Linked DNA regions of Homo sapiens: all the other regions are linked to region 1. Evidence: promoter capture Hi-C in human tissues and cell types (Jung and others, 2019). All regions are on one chromosome and are shown on one strand. Each heading gives the region's core, a stretch centred on a gene start or on the middle of the fragment in contact. The rest is flanking DNA. Distances are from core to core; before and after follow the strand shown.

Evidence for each region. Contacts are between HindIII fragments. The study calls those that stand out against the background at their distance.
Region 2: a contact is called between the fragment with the promoter of GNRH2 here and the fragment with the promoter of SNRPB in region 1, in 1 of the 25 tissues and cell types used here (thymus).
Region 3: a fragment that was not itself captured here is called in contact with the fragment with the promoter of SNRPB in region 1 in 2 of the 25 tissues and cell types used here (IMR-90 fibroblasts and dorsolateral prefrontal cortex).
Region 4: a contact is called between the fragment with the promoter of FASTKD5 here and the fragment with the promoter of SNRPB in region 1, in 1 of the 25 tissues and cell types used here (heart left ventricle).
Region 5: a fragment that was not itself captured here is called in contact with the fragment with the promoter of SNRPB in region 1 in 3 of the 25 tissues and cell types used here (liver, lymphoblastoid cells and mesenchymal stem cells).
Region 6: a fragment that was not itself captured here is called in contact with the fragment with the promoter of SNRPB in region 1 in 1 of the 25 tissues and cell types used here (lymphoblastoid cells).
Region 7: a fragment that was not itself captured here is called in contact with the fragment with the promoter of SNRPB in region 1 in 4 of the 25 tissues and cell types used here (dorsolateral prefrontal cortex, heart left ventricle, liver and 1 more).

Annotation. Positions count from the first base shown.
Region 1 is chr20:2,469,509-2,472,541 of GRCh38, forward strand. SNRPB (small nuclear ribonucleoprotein polypeptides B and B1) reads right to left here and starts at 1,281. Exons shown (of 7, transcript NM_003091.4): 1 at 1,180-1,281. The coding sequence starts at 1,182. RefSeq lists enhancers at 901-1,020, 1,181-1,230, 1,241-1,290. The HindIII fragment of the contact is 7,557 bases long and covers 1-3,033 here.
Region 2 is chr20:3,042,045-3,045,003 of GRCh38, forward strand. It overlaps GNRH2 (gonadotropin releasing hormone 2), which reads left to right and starts at 1,578. Exons shown (of 4, transcript NM_178331.2): 1 at 1,578-1,621; 2 at 2,364-2,524; 3 at 2,656-2,792. The coding sequence starts at 2,371. The HindIII fragment of the contact is 17,170 bases long and covers 1-2,959 here.
Region 3 is chr20:1,786,306-1,789,300 of GRCh38, forward strand. No RefSeq gene overlaps it. Among named protein-coding and RNA genes, the nearest start is that of SIRPA, 110 kb to the right of the region's middle. The HindIII fragment of the contact is 9,616 bases long and covers 1-2,995 here.
Region 4 is chr20:3,158,384-3,161,134 of GRCh38, forward strand. FASTKD5 (FAST kinase domains 5) reads right to left here and starts at 1,482. Exons shown (of 2, transcript NM_021826.5): 1 at 1,383-1,482. UBOX5 (U-box domain containing 5) reads right to left here and starts at 1,482. Exons shown (of 5, transcript NM_014948.4): 1 at 1,383-1,482. The HindIII fragment of the contact is 11,638 bases long and covers 1-2,751 here.
Region 5 is chr20:1,810,936-1,813,976 of GRCh38, forward strand. No RefSeq gene overlaps it. Among named protein-coding and RNA genes, the nearest start is that of SIRPA, 83 kb to the right of the region's middle. The HindIII fragment of the contact is 6,291 bases long and covers 1-3,041 here.
Region 6 is chr20:1,872,145-1,874,881 of GRCh38, forward strand. LOC124904857 (a long non-coding RNA gene) reads right to left here. Exons shown (of 3, transcript XR_007067496.1): 2 at 823-903; 3 at 1-42. Among named protein-coding and RNA genes, the nearest start is that of SIRPA, 22 kb to the right of the region's middle. The HindIII fragment of the contact is 5,779 bases long and covers 1-2,737 here.
Region 7 is chr20:1,760,549-1,763,439 of GRCh38, forward strand. No RefSeq gene overlaps it. Among named protein-coding and RNA genes, the nearest start is that of SIRPG, 100 kb to the left of the region's middle. The HindIII fragment of the contact is 4,174 bases long and covers 1-2,891 here.

The sequences.
Region 1 (3,033 bases), core at 31-2,530:
TGGTGAAACCCCGTCTCTACTAAAAATACAAAAAATTAGCCAAGTGTGGTGGCGGGTACCTACAATCCCAGCTACTTGGGAGGCTGAGGCAGGAGAATCGCTTGAACCCGGGAGGTGGAGTTTGCAGTGAACCCTGATCGATCCACCGCACTCCAGCCTGGGCAACAAAAGCAAAACTCCGTCTCAAAAAAATAAAAATAAATTAAATTAAATCCTTCAATGACATGCCTCACCACCACTGAGGTAAAATTAACATGCAAGGCCTTTAGTAACTAGCCTCCTGCCAATTCTTCCCGTCTTCCCTTCTTTCTTCCTTTCTCCTCCAGCAACTTTTTCTCAGTCAACAAACGCAGAAAAATCCAGTAACTTTTTAAATCTTGTTACCCTTCAGCCTTTGTTCCTTCAGTTCTCCGGGTCTGTAATATTCCCCCCATTTTCGCCGGGAACATTCTTGCTAATCTTTTAGGAATCTGCTCAGGAACCATCTATTTGAGAAAACATTCTTACCCCGCCCCGCTGCCGTTACTTTTACCGAATGACCACACTGAATTATATTATGTGTCCCCAGCTACCTCTGTGAAGGAAGCAAACATATTTCAGAGAGTAGCCCCAGCGCCTGAGAAGTCAGGCACAGGCAAACACGGAAACGTGATGAGCAACTGAGTGGAGCTCTTCCTCCATTCGCCATCACCCTCCTCCGCCCTCCTCTCCATCCAGCAGACCTAGCGAGACTCTAGCGTGGTCCACGAGCCCCTTCCACCCACTTCCGCCAACTCTTTCTCAGACTCACAAACTTCCGCAAGTCTGAGCCTTTTACCGGGTCCCCCTGCGGCTCCAGTGCCTGCTCCGAAGCCCGGGACATATATTTATTCGGCAAAAGTTAACTTAGTGCCTACTGGGTCCCAGGAATTATGGCTACAGCGGTGTCGAGAGCCGCGGTTCTACCCTCGCCCCTGCCGAGCGACCTCGGCCTCCGACACCGGTTCCAACCTTTTCCTCGACCCCATGCCTAGCCGAACCGCCAAGGTCCTGGTCTTTCCCGCCCAGACCGAGCGGCCTCGGCCCAGGCCTTCACCGCCCTAAGTGGCTCCAACCCACGGCTTCCTCCCCGATCAGTCGCGGTTCCCACTCCACAACAGACTCGGAAGCTCCCGCGCCGCCAGCCTGTGCCCTCCTTACCATGGTGGCGGTTCTGATGGCTCTGATACCCGCCGGATTCGCCTCCTCAGAGGCCTAGCCTCTCTCCCACAGCCGATTTCCCGCCGCCGCTACCGGAAATGCAGCACCACGTAAAATGCGGTCGGGTAGAAACCTACTTCCGGTCCAGCTCACTAGCCCTGGAGTTCCGGCCCCGGAGCGGAGCTTCTGCCGAGCAGAGGCGGGGCCTGGGGACTGGGCGTTAACATCCGGCTTTGACGTAAGGAGAGCCTTAAGTTCCTGTTTGGACACCTTCCTAGCTTAAATCCGTACTGAGAGCTGCTCTGTGTCACACTCATTTCTCTTCACCCCGCCTTTCCCATTAACCTCTCGGTCCTCATTTCCCATCACCCTCCCCGGCTCTCTCCTCTACAGTCACTATTCTTGCTTTTCCCTCCACTGGCTGGACGTGCTCCTTTTTCAGCCCCTCTGCATTTGCTTTCGCCTCTGCCTGGAATGGTAGTCCCCAAGGTATACCAGAAGGCTGCTGCCCTCACCTCTTTCAAGGTTTAAGCTTAAATAACATTTTCCCAGTGAGGATTTCCCTAGCCATCCTGTAACCTTCCCACCCACCTCATCCTCATCTCTCCTGTATTTCCCTCTTGCTATCTAACACGCTGTATATTTTTGTTAGTTATTTTATTATCCCCTCCCCATTAGAATGTAAGATCCATAAGGGTGTGAATTTTTCTCTTTGTGTATTACTCATTGCTGTAGTGCCTAGAACACTTTAGCACAAAATAAGGGCTCTACCCATATTTGCTGATAATCGCATCCAGTCGTATGACATTTATTTTTTTTCTATGACTTTTTTTTTTCTTTTGAGACAGAGTCTCAGTCTGTCACCAAGGCTGGAGTGCAGTGGCACAATCTCGGCTCACTGCAACCTCTGCCTCCCCGGTTCAAGCGATTCTCCTGCCTCAGCCTCCCGAGTAGCTGGGAATACAGGCCTGTGCCACCACACTCGGCTAATTTTTGTATTTTTAGTAGAGACGGGGTTTTGCCATGTTGGCCAGGCTGGTCTCGAACTCCTGACCTCAACTCCTGGTCTCGAACTCCTGATCCACCCACTTTGGCCTCCCAAAGTGCTGGAATTACAGGCGTGAACCATCACACTGGGCCCTTCCTATGACTTTTAAATACAGCATATACACCCAAGGCTTTCAAGTTTGTTCCTCTAACCTTGGTCTCTTCATTTAACTCTTGGCCCTTTATATCCAGCTGCCAGCGTGATGTGAATGTCTAATAGGTATACCAAATTTAACATGTTGAAAACTGAATTCTTGATTCTATTCACTGTTTCTAAAACCACTTCACCAGTGTTCCCCATCCCCGAAGTTTCTTGGATTAAAAAAGAAAAAAAAGAAAATGACAAATTTGAAGCATATTTCATTCTTCTCTTTCTCTGCCATCGAATAATCAAATTCATCAGCAAATCCTGTGGCCCCCACCTTCAAATTATCTTGAATATGATTGTTGTCACCCACTCCATTGCGTCCACTCTAGTCATAGCCACCATCGTCTCTGTCTTGGATCATTGAACGAGCCCGTAACTTGTCTCTTTGCTTCCTTTCTTGTTCTCACGGCAGCCAGAGGGATCCTTCTAAACGTACTGGGATATCAGATGATGTCATGTCCTGGTCTCCACTTACCAAAAACTTCCCAGCACACATGGAATAAAATCTAGCTCTGCGCTCCTCTCCAACCTCATTCATCTCCGTCAACATTGCCCTCATTCATCCTTCTCCAGTCACACTAATCTCCTTGCTGTTCCTCAAACCCAGCAAGGAGAGCTTCCACCTTGGTGCTTTGCCATCTTCACACCATCTCTAAAGG
Region 2 (2,959 bases), core at 328-2,827, 570 kb after region 1:
TGCTCAGGGTTTGTGCCTCTCTGTGCTCCTGCAGCACCTGAGTGTTTATTCACCTCTGAACCTCTGCTTTCCCACCTGAGTACACGCAGCTCCTGGCTGCAGTGACTTCATATCCTGAGGACTGGAGCTCCGTGGTGAACAGATGGCTTTCTATGTTCTAATGAGAGGGATACAAGAGTTCCACAGTTCTAGTCTGGAAAGGACCAAACATTTCTTAAAAGCTAAGTATGTTGCCGGAAAAAAAAGGGAGCAGAGCTTTCCCCAGGAAGCTTGGCTCTGGTTTAGATTTTTCAGGAAAAGCCGGAATCAAATTACAGAATAAATAAAGGCAACCATCCCCCTTTTAAAGGTACACCAGCCTTGGTGCATCTTTGAAGAAAGCATTCTGTAAACCCCAACCAGAACTAAACTAGTACGTCGAACTCAGATTCATTTTCACTAAACCACAAGCAAATGTTTCCCTAAAAATCACCCAGTTAACAAAGTCCGCATATTTAAGCCAAAACAATTTAACTGAACAAATGGGCCACACGTTGATTTCCGGTCCCTGCTAATAAGTCAGTCTGGAAGTTCACAGGTGTGCCCATCCTGCCTTGGCTGCTGAAGTCCAGGTGTCTAGGGCTGACTGATGCCCATTATGCCTCCCCTCCCCCATCTTTGTCACAGGATTTGACGCACCAGCTCTCCAAATGACCCTGGCCCTCCCATTTGCTGTTCAGCCCAAGTGCGGAGATTGGCTATGAACCCTGTAAACAGGCCTCTGACCCCCAGAGGCTGATGGCTGGCCAAGGAAAGCTGAGCTGCTGACGCAGACTGGGAAGCAAGAGCCCACTTCCAGCAGCCCAGGCTAGCTGTGTCCAAATCCATGACTGGGGAGGGGTTAGAGCCTTGAGGGACAAAATTATTCTACCTACCTAGGGAGACTGCACTGGCCCAACAGCTGGGCCCCATCTCATGGGCCCGCTTCTTCGCCAGGAGAGAAGCCACTCCGGGGTAGGTACTGCCCCACCCAAACCCAGCCATCTGGAGTGACCCAGCCCTGGTTCCCAGGTGTGTGGATGTGAATTGTCCCACCCAACCCACTCTACAGTGAGCAAACGGAAGCCCTCTGGGAGAGTGGTCACAGCCTCCCCTGTACCTCTGAACAGCCTGCCAGGCTCCCTACTCTTAGGCTTCCACTGTCCACCAGGGAAAGCCCTGAGCTGGGAGTTGGGGAGCCCCCAGGCATTGCCCCTGCCCAGGACACAATTCTCTTTTGGGATCAGGGAAGGCTGTGAGGGCTTTCTAGGTCTCAAGATCAGGAGCTTGAAGATGCAGCCTGGGAAGTGGGAAGGTGAGACCAGGACATAGGCCAGCCTAAAGCAAGAGTCCTGGGCCTGAAGGCTCCTGGGAAGGTGGTGGGGAGGGAGCATGTGTCGGTGGCCTCAGGGCAGCAGCTGCCTGGTGAATGTTCATGGACTGGATGCTCTGGGAAGCGGGTTGGGTGGTGAGCTTCTCTCTTCCCCTCTGAAGACGTCACTGGAGTCTGGGGGTGGAGCTGCCTGGTCTATAAATCCTGGGGCCATCAGGCTAGGGTCCTGCAGCTGCCTGAAGGAGCCATCTCATCCACAGCTCTTCCTTGGTGAGTGGGGAGCCTTCCCTAAGGGCTAGGACACCTGGACCAAGTTTCATCCTGGGCGTATGGTGTGCTGCTCCTCTTCCCCATTCCCAGGTGCCTCCACCCCTGAACCATGCCAGAGAAGTCCCCTTTTCCTCTCCTCTCCCCAACAGCTCTACCATCTATTCTTGTGCTTGTTGCCCCTGGCATGGGAGGGATAAGGGGTAGAAGCACTTGCCCCCATCAATACCACTCATCCATTCCACATCCCCAACTACTATGGAAGAGATACAGCAGGCCACGGAGAAAAGGGCAGAAGGCCTGCAACTCTGGTTCCCTAGCACTGGTGCTCCAAACACGCCTACATTGAGAACTCCCCTGACCATCCATCTATCCTCCCATCCATTGGCCTGAATTCAGGTCTCTGTTCCCCTCCAACTTTCTTCCACTTCTGGAAACTCCTTGAAGGAAAGATGGATGGACCTGGACAAGTGGGAGGGCCCTCAGAGCTGGCAAGGCAGGTAGCCTCTGTGCCCCAGGCTCAGGGAGAAGGCTCGTCCCCTGGAGCATCATCCCCTGCTGGGCCAGGATCCCCCAGGATCTGGACCCCTGTATGCTTGGGATGAGGAGCGGTGGCAGAGAGGGAAGGGCATAAGGAGATACCAAAGCTGCCCCTGAGATGCCAGTTTTCCAAAGTGGCCCTGGAGGAAGTAGGGGGATGTGGGGGTGAGGTAAGTCTCCTTGAATGCTGTACCCTGTCCATTAGAGCAGCCATGGCCAGCTCCAGGCGAGGCCTCCTGCTCCTGCTGCTGCTGACTGCCCACCTTGGACCCTCAGAGGCTCAGCACTGGTCCCATGGCTGGTACCCTGGAGGAAAGCGAGCCCTCAGCTCAGCCCAGGATCCCCAGAATGCCCTTAGGCCCCCAGGTGGGTGTCTCCCAGCCTCATGGGGAGGAAGAAAGTGATGGCCGGGGGCTCCCCCACCCTCCTGGAGCCTGAGGTCGGGGTAGGGAGGACAGCATCAGTTCCCTTCTAAGGAAGGGCCCTGGACACTGCAGCAGGCAGCCCAGTCCAGACTGCCCATGGCCTCCCAAGTGATGCCCTGGCTCCCCTGGACGACAGCATGCCCTGGGAGGGCAGGACCACGGCCCAGTGGTCCCTTCACAGGAAGCGACACCTGGCACGGACACTGCTGGTGAGTAGGGTGAGAGGTCCCCAGCATCAAGACCAGCCACTGGTCATCAGAGGCCATTGTGGCTTAGGGTTGGGTGCTGGGAGGGTGGGGAGAATGAAACACCACTGAGATGCCCCCTGCCACAGCACCCCCAGCCATTTCTCAGTGCCCCTACTGCACACAGCAGG
Region 3 (2,995 bases), core at 257-2,756, 680 kb before region 1:
TCCACATGGACATTGCATAGGATGAGACCACCTCAGGAAAGAAGAGATTGGGGGAGAGGGAGAGGGGGAAGGAGAGTCCCAGGGCTGGGATTCTGATCTGGCTCTGCCACCAATTTGCAGGGTCAGCTTGGGCCATCTCTCTGGGCTTTGGGTTCTACAACTGGACATGAAGGGAACTGAGCCAGGTGATCTCTAAGGATCCTTCTTCTTTGAATATTCACAGGCTTGGTTTCATTTCCTGTACCCAGGAGTTTTAGTCTGGGCCGGGGCTCCACTCACCCCACTGCTGAGCCTGCTGGCTATCTGATCCCTGCATTGCACAGGGCCCCACTCTGAGAGGAACCCGCACTTGATTTACTGCTCTGCTGTTACTGTTTTGAAACGTTTAATTATTCTGGGACATGCTCTGCTAATTATGTGGCCAGTGCTACCATGTGCCGTTGGTCTACTGCTGTGAGGTGAGGCAGGAGCACGATTTGGCTGTTGGGAGGTCCCTCAGGTTGTTGGGTGCCAGGACTGAGGGCCCTTGCTGGACCCCTCTGAGGACTCCCCAGTCCCTGCTGTCACCAACGCCACCCTCCCAATGCCTCCCCAGACTCTGCAATCCCAGAAAGACAACCTTGGCATTCCTGAACTTCCTTTTCCTCTTTCCTTCAGAAGCTGAACAAATAGTCAAGGGCAAATACCAAAACCGTGGAATTCTGATATAGACCAGGATTTCCGAAGATATGAGCCATGGACTGACATGCAGACACAGTCCTACCCCAGATGTAGAATCCTACAGAGGTCCTAAAATCTGCAGTTAAACAAACTAAACAAAACAGCATTCTGACTGAGTTAAAACTTGAGAACTGCTGATTTAAGCTAGTGACCCAGATGAGTTCAGGAAGATGACTTGATGGGGGCATTGATGCTGCCTGGATTGGGGGCTGGGGAGAAGGAGGGAAGCCAGGGAGAGATGAACTACTCAGCCATATGCTCCTTGTCCTTCAGGTCTCAGCTCAAATGTCCGCCCCCAGGAGGCCTTCCCTTGACTCCAGCACACAGTGAGCTGAGACCCTGCTCCAAGCTCCCTCAACTCCTGACCTTAGCAGAGCACCTTCTTACCATTGGTGATTGTCACTACTGCTAGACTGCGTGCACCGTGGAGGCCAGGAATGGGGACTCTCTTGGTCTCCATGGTATCCGCAACACCTAGCACAAGGTGTAGCACACAGAAGATGCTCAACAAATACTTGTTCGATGAATGAATGAAGAGAGAGTTTGGATGTATAGGGCCAAGGGAATCTTTCAGTCCTAGGAATCTGACACTTACCTTGGAGTGAAGGCTGGTTACTGCCTCTTGCCTGAGGAGACCCTATAGAGGGCTAGCATTAGAATTCCCCTCTCCTGGCTGATCTTAGAGTGATGGAAGAGACTGGCAGGGGAAAATTTAGACTAAGGTGTTAAAGGCTAACATACCATTTCACCCTTCAATATTGGTTGTGATTTCCAAAATGCTATTTGCTAACCCCACTGAGCATCTCACTGGGAAGATCCAAGCCATTGAGGAAAGAAAACAAGCAAAAGAGATTTAAGGGTTAAAGAAACCCTCTTTTGATATTTTACATAGTCCCAACAAACTTCTCTGCTGCAGGAGATGAAGACTTCAGCCACTACAGGTGGACTGGCCCCAGTGACCCCTGTCTCCATGAGAGCAAGCAGATATAATAATGGGAGATGATGGTGAAGATCAATGCCTTAAACCCGAAGAATGGCTTTAATGGTGGACTTTTAGGCTGTCAGCACTTAGGTGGGGCACATCTGTAGGAAGAGGAGAAGAAAAGAAAACTCAATGAGATGAGGTGATTTGCTTGATAACTTACAGAGAGACCAGCAAGCTAGATAGGAACAACTAAGACCAATAAGGAAGTTATAAGAGGCTCATTTCTGCTTAAGAGAAGGAAGAACTTTCTAACAATAAATGCTGTCCAGTAACAAAACTGTTTATCTTTTGGGGGAACTTCCTTTCATCAGGGAAGTATAAGTATAGAACTCCAGTTAGAGATGCTGGACAAGGAGTCTAATTCGACTAGATAAGTGATTTTCAAACCATAGGTCACAATGCCTTCATGGGGCATGAAATCGATTTAGCGGACCTAAACTAGCAATTTTTTTTAACGGAAAAGATAGAAGAGAGAGGAAAGAAAAGAAGGAAAGGAGGAGAAGGGAAAAGTTAGAAGATAGAAGGGGAGGTGAGGCGAGGAAAGAGAAAAGAAGAGGAATTATGTGAGTTTATCCCACATAGGAAAGGCAAGAACTGTCCACTGAAACTTTCGGGGTGTGTGTGTGTGCGCGTCCGTGTTTGTGTGTGTGTGTGCGCGTGTGTGCACTCACTAGGTGGCAATATAAAGTATATTACTAAGTGTGGGTGATAGTCAAAAAGATTGAACACCTCCGGAAGTTGATCTCTAAGATCCTTCAAACTTTGCAGTTATGTGACATGAGGTCCTTAGGTTTTATGTATCAAATTATGAGAATAGGATTCTAAGATCCATTTATTTCATTTTTTATTCATTTACTCCACATTTATTTAATACCTATTTTAAGCCATACTGGGTGCTAGGGGCAAAGAGATACATCAGAATCAGTATCAGTTCCTGCCCTCAAGATATGGAGATGAACATTTACACAGATCATTATAATACAGTGTAGTATATGCTTCAGTAAGCATTTGGCTAAGATTTATGCACCTTTCACCCAGCCCCCTGTGCAAACTGATTTTCTTATCTCCATTTTACAGATGGAAAAAAAATCAAAGCTCAAATGGTCACACAAAGGGTGAATCAAGGTCCACCCAGCAGAACCAGAATTTGAACCTAAGACCACCAGGAGAGCCTGAATTTCTAACCGTTGGGCTCCACTGGGGTGTGAAGGGCAGGTGGGTGGGATATGGAGGCTCAGAGAAGGAAGGCTGGCTGCAGCAGCTGGGGGTGGGGTGGGGAAGAGGCCAGGG
Region 4 (2,751 bases), core at 232-2,731, 690 kb after region 1:
CATTAGACCTGCATAACTGCCAAAGGCCTCACTTTTTAAGTTATGTTATGCAGCACAGAGTCTTCAGATTTTATTTACTTATTTATTTATTTATTTATTCATTTATTTGAGACGGACTCTCGCTCTCTCGCCCAGGCTGGAGTGCAGTGGCGCGATCTCGGCTCACTGCACACTCCGCCTCCCGGGGTTCACGCCACGCTCCTGCCTCAGCCTCCAGAGTAGCTGGGACTACAGGCGCCCGCCACCACGCCCAGCTATTTTTTTGTATTTTTAGTAGAGACGGGGTTTCACCATATTAGCCAAGATGGTCTCGATCTCCTGACCTCGTGATCCGCCCGCCTTGACCTCCCAAAGTGCTGGGATTACAGGCGTGAGCCACTGTGTCCGGCCCAGATTTTATTTTAGTCTACCAGGTAGTAGCAAACTATCCAAGGACTTGCCCAGGACCATTCAGGTCAGTGAGCTACAGAATCTAGTTCTGGAAAGGCAGCCATTCTTACTATTCACAAAGTGTAGAAAACGTGAATTCAGATTCCAGCAGCAACAAATGACTGGAGCACAAAACGCCAGCCACAGTTGGTGCTAACGCAGCTGGCTATCAGCTCCACAGGATGAAGCACTGTCCAAGGGTCTGATCAGTGAAGCATCACCCAAGACTGATGAACACAGCTGATATGAGGGGACCCAAAGTTCCCTGAGTCAAGACAGAAGAGCTGTGTCACGGTTTGCACAGAAAGAGAAAGAGCAACTATTCTTACCCACGGAAAGAAAAAGGGAGAAGGCCATCAATACTACCCTTAGGCTTGTGCAACGAGAAACTGCTAAAAATGGGGGGAAGGTATATATCCTATCATACTGATGTTTACCGAAGACTCCGCATCCCAAATGCTAAGCAACATACTGTAGGGCCTTGCTACTCAGTGTGTGGTCTGCGTGCCAGAGGCTTCAGCCTCGTCTGGAATCTAGTTAGGAACACAGTTATCTCAGAACCCACCCCAGTCCTACAGAATCAGAATCTCTAAGCGATTCGCAGGCACATCAAAGTGTGATGAGAGGCGCGGCAGAATATCTGACTACATTCTCTTAACAGCACCGTGAGACAAGTACTGTTACGATCTCCATTTCACAGAGGAAAAAAAATCAAGGGTCAGATAAGCCCCCTGCCAAAGATCACAAACTCAGGAGCGGCGAGAGTCACTGAAGTTCTCACCACAGCCAGGCCTGCGAGAGGCACTGGCAACCCAGGCCAAGAGCTGAACAAGGCCTCGATGCGCTCCAGCTCTGGGCCGGCCGGGAGGACAGGAGGCACAGGCCAAGGCCCAGGACGGTCGTGAACGCGGAAAGAGGCCGCCGCGACCTCCTCCCCGGCCGCCGCCACTCACCTGATCCTCCCGAAGGTGGGCGCCGCAACACCAAACCGGGGACGCCGCGGGCGGCGGCGACACAGATACTGGCTCCTCCGGCGACTCCGAGCCTCACAGCCCCACTTCCGGCCAACTGCCCGCTACTTCCGCCTGCTGCGCGAGTGACGGATGCGGCCGAGGCTCAAAAGACTCTGTCAGCGTTTCCCAAGGACATTTTCCACTGGAGGACGTTGTTGAGGAGGCAGGGGGAGTCTAGGACCTGCAGAGGGAAAACACCTTCCTGGATGGATCGCTCTGGAAGTCATTAAGCAGCTTAGTCCCGGCGCGGTGGCTCACGCCTGTAATCCCAGTACTTTGGGAGGCCAAGGCGGGCGGATCACCTGAGTTCAGGAGTTCGAGACCAGCCTGGCTAACGTGGTGAAACCCCCGTCTCTACTAAAAATACAAAAATTAGCCGGGCGTGGTGGCGCACGCCTATAATCCAGCTATTCAGGAAGCGGAAGCAGGAGAGTCGCTTGAACCCGGGAGGCGGAGGTTGCAGTGAGCCGATATCTCGCCACTGTACTCCAGTCTGGGCACCCCTGTACTCCAGCTCTGGGACACAGAGCGAGACTCCATCTAAAAAAAAAAAAAAAAAAAAAAAAGTAAGTAGCTTAGACACATGTTCAAATCTGAGGACCACCACTCAGGGTTTTATGGCCTTGGAGAAGTCACATAAATTCATTCTTGTTATATTATTATTATTATTTTCATAGAGACGGGGATGGCAGTGTCTTCCTATGTTGCCCAGGCTAGTCTCGAACTCCTGGGCTCATGCAATACTGCCGCCTCAGCCTCCGAAAGTACTGGGATTACAGGTATGAGCCATCGCACCCGGCCCACATAAATTCTCTAAGCCTGTACAGTGAGAAAAACAATACATTTTTTTTTTTTTTGAGACAAAGTCTTGCCCCATTGCCCAGGCTGGGGTGCAATGGTGCAATCATGGCTCACTGCAGCCTCAACCTCCTGGGTTCAAGTGATCCTCCTGCCTCAGCCTCCTGAGTAGCTAAGACCACAGGCATGCACCACCACACCTGTCTAATTTTAACAATGCATTGGTCGGGTGTGGTGGCTCACACCTGTAATCCCCGGTGTTGGAGACCGGCCTGGCCAACATGGTGAAACCTCGTCTCTACTAAAAATACAAAAAAAAATTAGCGGGGCATGGTGGCGTGCACCTGTAACCCCAGCTACTTGGGAGGCTAAGGCAGGAGAATCACTTGAACGCAGGAGGTAGAGGTTGCAGTGAGCCGAGATTGCACCACTGCACTCCAGCCGGGGCAACAGTGAGACTCCATCTTTTTTTTTTTTTAATGCATTTATAATAGAGATGTATCTGTAAAGT
Region 5 (3,041 bases), core at 435-2,934, 660 kb before region 1:
AAAAGGACTTGTGTCCCAGTAGCTGGCTCTCCTGTCAAAGCTTGTCCCGGGCTGAGAGCTGGAGCTCTGTGTTCCCACCAAGGATCTACTGTCAGAATCACTGGAGAGCAGCGTGGGCTTTACAGAAGGAAGGTTCTGGGGCAGCAGGGGCACGTGGCCTCCCTGGGACAGGCACACACCTGGAAACCCCACAAATGGGAAGGACTCCATGTGGGTGACAGGTGAGGCTGGTAACAAGCGTGTAGGGTCACTGTACTGTTCTCTCCACTTCCTGTAGTTTGAGAATTTTCTTTAGAGAGAGAAAAAAAAAAAAGAGTGTTTTTCCCCTGAAGTTCTCTTTTCCCGACACATGCCCAGAGGATTTCCTGTAGCCCTCCCTCCCCACCATACCCCACCCACAACTTCTCTTTTCTCCTCCCCTCTGATTCGAGGAGAGAGCCATTCTGCTCTGCTTACTAGCTGCCTGTCTGCATCTGGGGACACTTACAAACCTTTGATGCCTGTTTACTCCCCTACTCGCCAAGATTTGGGTCCAGATGGCCTGGTGAGGTGGTGCTGGGCACTGATGGTTGCTAAATGCTCCCTGGGTGATCCTGGCACTTTCTAGAGTTGAGCAACTACCTTGTTACCCCAGACCCAGCCCTGACTCTGCCACACTCAGGGATCTCCTGTTAATAGGGTCCAGCCTCCTTAGAAGACAGTTTAACAACATATTTTGTTACCTGAGCCCATCTTTGGGGTCCACCATAGCTGCCTAAGTGACTTGAGGAGATATTTCTTCCAAACCCAGACAAAGAGCCTCATTCACCACCAGCACTCCTGGTGGATGACATCCTCCCTGTTACCTTATGCGACACGGGTTCCCTGTGACCATTTGGAAAGTGCAGAGAAGCACACAGGAGCTGGCCACAGCCCACTTCAAGCCCAGGAATTTGTGAACAGAAAGGAGCCATTGTCTCCAGTCACTTGAAGGGAACAGCTCAAAAACACATTCAAAGGGCCCTGATGATAATGAATATGCTAATATGATTTCCACTGGGCGCCTGTGCTACCTCCAAAAAACCCTTTCTGACCTTCCTCATGGATTCAAAGCTTTCATTGAAGTCGACAGGGGATTTTGGTTAAAATAACATGAAAGTTTTCATTTAAATGGACAAAGCTGGGAGTTGTGAATTAAGCATGAGTTTCACATTGGTCCTGACACCCCTGACCTTGATGGGGAAATGCATAGATTGTGACTGGACCTTCTGGACCTTCTAGCTATTGCCTTTGGGTGGGCAGAGCTAGCAAGCATTAAGGGTCCCTTTTGCATGACAAGTGAACTCTGGAGACCTAGGTTTAAATCCCAGCTCTGACACTTACTAGCTGGGTGACCTTGAGAAAGGCAAATCATTTCTCTGATTGAGCCTCAATTTCCCCATCTGTAAAATGGTTTGGATAATACTTCCCTTGCAGCATTGCTTCCAAGAGTGAATAAGAAGTCTGTATGTGGGAGGGGTTGGGGAAGTGGAAAACATCTTGGAGCTCCCCACCGTCTCACCCAGTCAGAGACCCAGCAAGGGTGTGAACACCTCCAGCCTCCCATATCCCAGACCTTCTTTCCTTCATTCAGCGTATATTTATAAAGCATTTCCTGGGTGCCAGGTACTGTTTTGGGGCTGGGGATTCAGCTGTGAACAGAACAGATGAACTCTGCCCTCAGTGGAGCTGCCATTGTAGTGGGAAGGACAGACATTAAACACATGAATAGATAAATAATAAGTAAGTGGGCTGGGCGTGGTGGCTCACGCCTGTAATCCTGACACTTCGGGAGGCCGAGGGGTGGGGGGGGGGGTGTTGGATCACCTGAGGTCAGGAGTTCGAGACCAGCCTAACCAACATGGTGAAACCCCATCTCTACTAAAAATACAAGGGCGTGGTGGCACATGCCTGTAATCCCAGCTACTCGGGAGGCTGAGGCATGATAATCACTTGAACCTGGGAGGCGGAGGTTGCAGTGAGCCGAGATCATGCCACTGCACTCCAGCCTGGGCAACAGAGCAAGACTTCGTCTCAAAAATAATAATAATAATATGTAAGTGGTAATAAGTTCTTTGGAGAAGAAAAACAAAGTCCTTAATGAAAAGAGCAGAGCTTTAGAATTAGACAGAGCTGAATTCAAATCTCAGCTTGCTCTTTGCTGGCTGTGTAATGCCTGGGAAAGAGATTTTATCTCCCTAACACTCTTCTGCACATTTTTTAATGAGACCCACTGATGAATCACCCACCCATTGAACAAATATTTATAGAACTCTGGGCCAGGCACGGTGGCTCATGCCTGTAATCCCAGCACTTCAGGAGGCCGATGCAGGCGGGTCACTGAGGTCAGGAGTTGGATACCAGCCCGGCCAATATGATGAAATCACATCTCTACTAAAAATACCCCCCCAAAAAAGAAAAAAAAATAGCTGGACATGGTGGCGTGCACTTGTAATCCCAGCTATTCCAGAGGCTGTGACAGGAGAATCGCTTGAACCCAGGAGACAGAGGTTATAGTGAGCCAAGATCGTGCCACTGCACTTCAGCCTGGGCAAGTGAGCCAGACTCCATCTCAAAAAAGAAAAAAGAACTCTGTCCTGTGTCAAGCATTGTTTTGAGTGCTGGGGAGGCCACAGTGAATGAAACAAAAATCCTTGCCCTTGGGAGCTTAAAATCTAAAAGGGAGAAATAGACAATTAACAAATATACGTATATCAGGTGATGAAAGAAAAAGCAAGGGAAGGAGGTCAAGAATGTGGAGGACATTATTTCAGGGAGTGGTGGTCAGGGAAGGCCTCTCTGGGGAGCTGACATTTAAGTGGAGCTTTGAAAGATGTAGGGGAGTTAGCCATGTGGGTGTCTGAAGGAAGAACCTTCCCAGTCGGAGGAGACATCAAGGGCAAAGGCCCTGAGGTAGGGCCATGCGTGGCTGTTGGGAGGATTAGGGAATTGGAGGCAATGTCTAAGACACACCCAGCACAGCCCCTGGCTCTGAGTGGGGGTTCAATCAATAGCAGTTATTA
Region 6 (2,737 bases), core at 104-2,603, 600 kb before region 1:
CGCCATGTAGGAGGATCTCCTTCCTCTTACGCTGCCTCCAGCCTATGAGAGGATGTAGGTAATGACTATGCTCACAAATATCACAAATGCTCGGTATACAGCAGGGGCTCAATAAATGCTTGTTAGAGGCAACCAGAGCACAGCCAGATGTGTGCGTGTGTATGTGCTGACTGTACCATTTTCCAGATGTGTGTCCCACAGCCCATCACTTTGCCTCTCTGAGCCTCTGTTACCTCATCTGTAAAATGGGAGGACTCATTCTTGCCTGGAAGGGTGAGTGGGGCATCCCCAGGGCTCCTGCGCCCCAGTCACAGGGTGAAGGTATGGCACCAATGTACCCAGAGGATATCTGGCAGGTGCACAGTAGACATAATAGTCCACATAATAGTGACAACCAGAGCCACCGTAGCATCTGGCAGAGCAGACTTGGGAGTGAGCTCTTGTGAGTCACAGGTTGGGGCTTCCCTGTGTAACCTGGTGAGGCTCACAGGAGTCCAATGGCTTAGAGTGGCAGATAGGGCCATGAGTCGGGCCATTGTCTCTGTGTCATCAATGATTCTGTGTTTGGTAGGTTTGCTCTAGACTCAGAGAAGAGCAAGACTCACTGGGAGCCTCTTCCCCTCTGCTAAGTTTTGAATGTATCCCCCAGAGTTCACATATTGGACATGTAATCCCCAGTGCAAGAGTGGTGACATGTAGGACCTTTAAGGAATGATTAATGCCATTATCATGGGAGTGGGTTGGTTATCGTGGGATTGGGTTCTTGGTAAAAGGATGAGCTCAGCACCCTTCCCTCTTGTTCTCTCTTGCACAATCTCTTACCCTTTTGCCTTCCACTATGGGATGATGCAGCCCAAGGGCCCTCTCCAGATGCCAGCTCCATGCTCTTGGACTTCCCAGTCTCTAGAATCATAGCCAGATAAATTTCTATTCATTATAAATTACCCAGTCTGCAGCATCCTGTTATAGCAGCATAACATGGACTAAGACACCATCCTTTGCCCCAGTTCAGGGCAAAGAGGCCTCAAGAAACCCACCATTTGTGAGAAACTTTTATGTGCTTCCTGGACTTTCTAGGTATTTACTGACAGCTAACTGTTACGGAGCACTTCTAGCACTAGGTACTGCTCTGCGCTCTTGTACCGTCTCAGACAAGGCCCCACAGGAACTCCTTGACACAGGTATTGTTATCACCATTTTGCAGGTGAGGCAACTGAGGCACAGAAAGCTTCCCAGAGTCACACAGGTAGGGCGATGGAGAAAAATTTGGAGTCTAAGTCTGAGTCCCTGAGCTTTCTGCTTAGGAGGCAGCCTAGCCTGGTGGTTAAAGCTGTGACCCCTTCCAAAGCCAGGCCACCAGGGGTCAAAGCTAGGCTCTTCCCCTTTGTTCTCCTTGCCTCAGTTTCCTTATCCAGAAAATGGGAGCAATAGGACCTACCTCATCAGACTGCTGTGAGGATTAAGTGAGGGCTGTGTTTACAGTGATAGGCAATCCATAATCCATAAAAGTACACGCTGGTCCTACCAGATTCCTCCTTCTCTTAGCTCAGAGGACTTCTCCCAATGTGTCTCTCTGTCAGTCTTATTTCTCTCTCTTGCTCTTTGCCATCTCTTCTGAGGCATATAAGCTTCTCTTTGTCACTTTCCTCTCTATCTTGGTCCCTTCTGGGTCCTAAATCCTGGCTCTGAGTTTATGTGCTGCATAAACTTCAGCATAGCACAGGGCAACCCTCCTGACTGTGGATACTCTCAAACTTCATAGAAATTTCTCCTGGGGAACTGGCTAAATGCAGAGTCCTGGTTCCACCGGAGAGAATCAGATTCTATAGGTCCAGGATGGGGTGAGAGAATCTGCATTTTAACCACTGTCCTCTCCAAAACCTTTCACCCTGTGACCTCCCAGGCTGGCTCTTGAACTATACTTTGAGAAGCACTGCATTTGCCCTCAGTTTCCTCATCTGTCAATTTGGAGTAAACAGAAACTACCTCCCAAGGTTGTAAAGATGAAATGAAATAATTTGTCTGGAAAGCAAACACCTTTTCTCTGTCTTGGCTTTTGTAAAATTTATTTTGTCTCTGACTTTCCCATTCTCTGTTTCTGGTGTTTTTCCTATTTCATTCTCTGTCCTCTCTCTCCCTACCCTCTACCTGGAAGTGGACCCAACTCCAGAGCTGAAATGGAAAACACTGAACAGGTGTGGCCCTTCTGTAAAGGCTGGAGGCCCCAAGATCATCCAAATGGCCTGTCCAGCTCCTTCCTACTGGCACCCCAGCAGTCCCCAAGACCAAGCATCCCCACCCCTGCAGCCCCCACAGCAGCAAAGCTGGGGAAAGATGGGGATCCATTGTGCAGGAACGGCCTTGCTGCTATGGAAACCAGCACTCAGAAAATGCTCAGAGATGATCCATTCTGGGGAGCGGCCTGGCCTTGGGGGAGGGGGAAAGGCCAAACTCTGCACCTTGGACTTTGCCCTCCCATTACCGGCCATGTGATGCTGGGCAAGTCACTTAACCTCTCTGAACCCTCCTCTCCCTCACCGGGCCCCGAGCAGCAGCCTCCATTATCGGTGGGTGATAACCGCCGCTGATGACTGAACACTGCTCTGCGGCTTTCAAGCCTGAAGACACGCCAAATTGCCATTTGCTTTCATTACTGCGAGCTTGAAATATTCTAGTGCCAGCTTGCTGCATGACCCTGTGCCTCCGAGGGCCACCAAACTATTTCCATGATAGAATT
Region 7 (2,891 bases), core at 209-2,708, 710 kb before region 1:
ACAGACACATAGATCGATGGTACAAAATAGAAAACCTGGAAACAGCCCCGTACAAGTACAGACACTTGATTTTTCAAAGTAGCAAAAGCAATTCAATGGAGGAAGGATTGATTCCACAAGTGAAACAGTCTTTTCAACAAAAGGTGCTGGATATCCATAAACAAAAAATGAACCTCAACCGAAACCTCATACCATACATTATACAAAAATTATCTCAAAATAGATCGTAGGTTCAAAGATAAAACATAAAACTATAAAATGTTTAGGAGAAAATCTTCAGGATCTAAGGCTCGATGGCAGATTCTTAGACCTGACATCAAAAGCATGATCAATTTTAAAAATTGATAAGTTGGATTTCATCAAAATTTAAAACTTTCGCTCTCCAAAATACCATGTTAAGGATGAAAACAAAGCTACTGACCGGGTGAAAATATTTGCAAACCACCCATCTGACAAAGGGTTCAAATCTAGGATATCTCTCTCAAAACTCAACAGTTAAAAACAACAAAACAAGACAAAAACTTCCATTACAAGTGGGTAAAGGTGGGAAAACTCAAACTGTTTTTCCTCTGCACTCATATAGCAACAATCAACACAGAAGACTTCTGTGACCAAATGTGGGAGATTTCTTCTCCACCAACAAGCAAGCAATCAATTCTGCAGCAGACACCAGCTGGGTGTCCTCAATCCAATTCTAATCTGATGCTATCTATCTGGAGGTAACGTCAGACACCACGGGGATGAGCACTCAGTCCCATGGAACTTCTCCCCACTTCCAATGCCAATTGCAAGGAATGTGCTTCTGACTCACTGGCTATGAATCAGAGATCTCACGACCTCTTCCTTGTGTTTAATTAATTTGCTAGAGCGGCCCACAGAACTCAGGGAAACACTTAAGTTTGCCAGTTTATTATAAAGGATATAGATGAAGAGATGCATAGGGAGAGGAATGGGGAAGGGACACGGAGCTTCCATGACGTCCGCAGGTGCAGCACTTTTCAGGAACTTGTATGTGTTCAGCTGTCCAGAAGCTCTCTGAACCCAGTCCTTTTGGGTTTTTACAGAAGCTTCATTATGTAGGCATAATTGATTAAATCGTTTAATCGACTTACTCTTCAGGTGACCAGTCGCCATCCTGAAGCTACGGAGGTGCTCCCAGCCATCAGTCAATTCATTAAGACACAAAAAGACATCTCTTTGGAGAGTCTAAGGATTTTAGGGGTTGTTTGGCAGGAAACAGGGTTGAAGACCAAATATATATTTCACAATATCACAATGGGTGAAAGACATAAAGAGACATTTTATCAACAAGGATATATAGATAGAAAATAAACACATAAAAGATGCTTACATCGCTAACCATCAGGAAAATGCAAATTAAGATCATAATGAGATATTATTACTATGTACCTAATAGAACAGTTATAGTAAAACATAGTGACAATATCAAATGCTGGCTAGGATGCGGGGAAACTGAATATCTAATACATTGAAAATGGGAATGTAAAATAATACACCCACTCTATAAAACTGGTTGTCAACTTCTTAAAAAGAACTAAGCATACACTCACTATACTACATGAACCAGCAATTGCCCTCCCATGCATTTGTCCCAGAAAAATGAAAACTTATGTACACACAAAAAACCGTGCACAAATGTTTGTAGCAGATTTATTTGTAACAGCAAAACACTGGAAACAACCAGTGTAAGACAAACTTGTCTTACAAGTGAATGGCTAAACAAACAGTATGCATCCATACAATAAAATAACACTCAGCAATAAAAAAATAAATTATTTATATATGCAACAACTTGTAAGGATCTCAAAGGCATTATGTTGAGTGAAAAATCAAACTCAAAATGTTACATACTGTATGATCCCATTTATATAACATTGTCAAAATTACAGAGATATAGAAGAGGTTAGCATTTGCCAGAGACTTAGTATGGTGAGGGTGGGTGTCACTATAATGAGGTAGCACCAGGGAGACCTTTATGGTTATGGAATTGTCTGTATTTTGACTATAGTGGTGATTACACAAACATACACAGGAGAGACTGAACATAAGCAAAAGCTAGGAATATTACCAGACCCAGCTGGAAATAATGTTCAGCCGGGTGGGGAGGTTCATGTCTGTAATCCCAGCACTTTGGGAGGCTGAGGTGGGTGGATCAATTGAGGTCAGGAGTTCGAGACCAGCCTGGCCAACATGGTGAAACTCTGTCTCTACTAAAAATACAAAAATTAGCCAGCCGTGGTGGTGCACACCTGTAATTCCAGCTACTAGGGAGGCTGAGGCAGGAGAATTGCTTGAACCCAGGGGGCAGAGATTGCAGTGAGCCAAAATTGCACCATTGCACGCTAGCCTGGGCGACAGAGTGAGACCCCATCTCAAAAAAAAAAAAAAAAAAAGAAAGTAAGAATATTCAAACACTTATTACAATATAGACATCGACTCTTAAATTATCCCAAATTATGATATAATCATATTCAGTTGATGGGGAATAGAAAGTGTTCACGTGTGGCATTAAGTCAGCAATGGTGGAGCATTATATTACCATCTGTAATTGTGGGAAGTCAAAAGTAACGCCTAATACTGAAAAATGAAGAAGTGGCAATATGAACATGTTATATGAGATATGGCAGTAAAAGTCTAAGATAATCTATTAAAAATTGAGAATAGTTGCTTCTGGGAGATAGAATATGGTTGGATGTTAGGGAGACTCCAATTTTTATATGTAAAACTTATATAACTATTTATTTGACTCTTAGTGTGTACATGTAACTTTGAGAAAGATAAACACTAATTTAGATCATTACACGAATGTTATAGGAGTTACACACAAAGGCCAGGTGGGGTGGCTTACACCTGTAATCCCAGCACTTTGG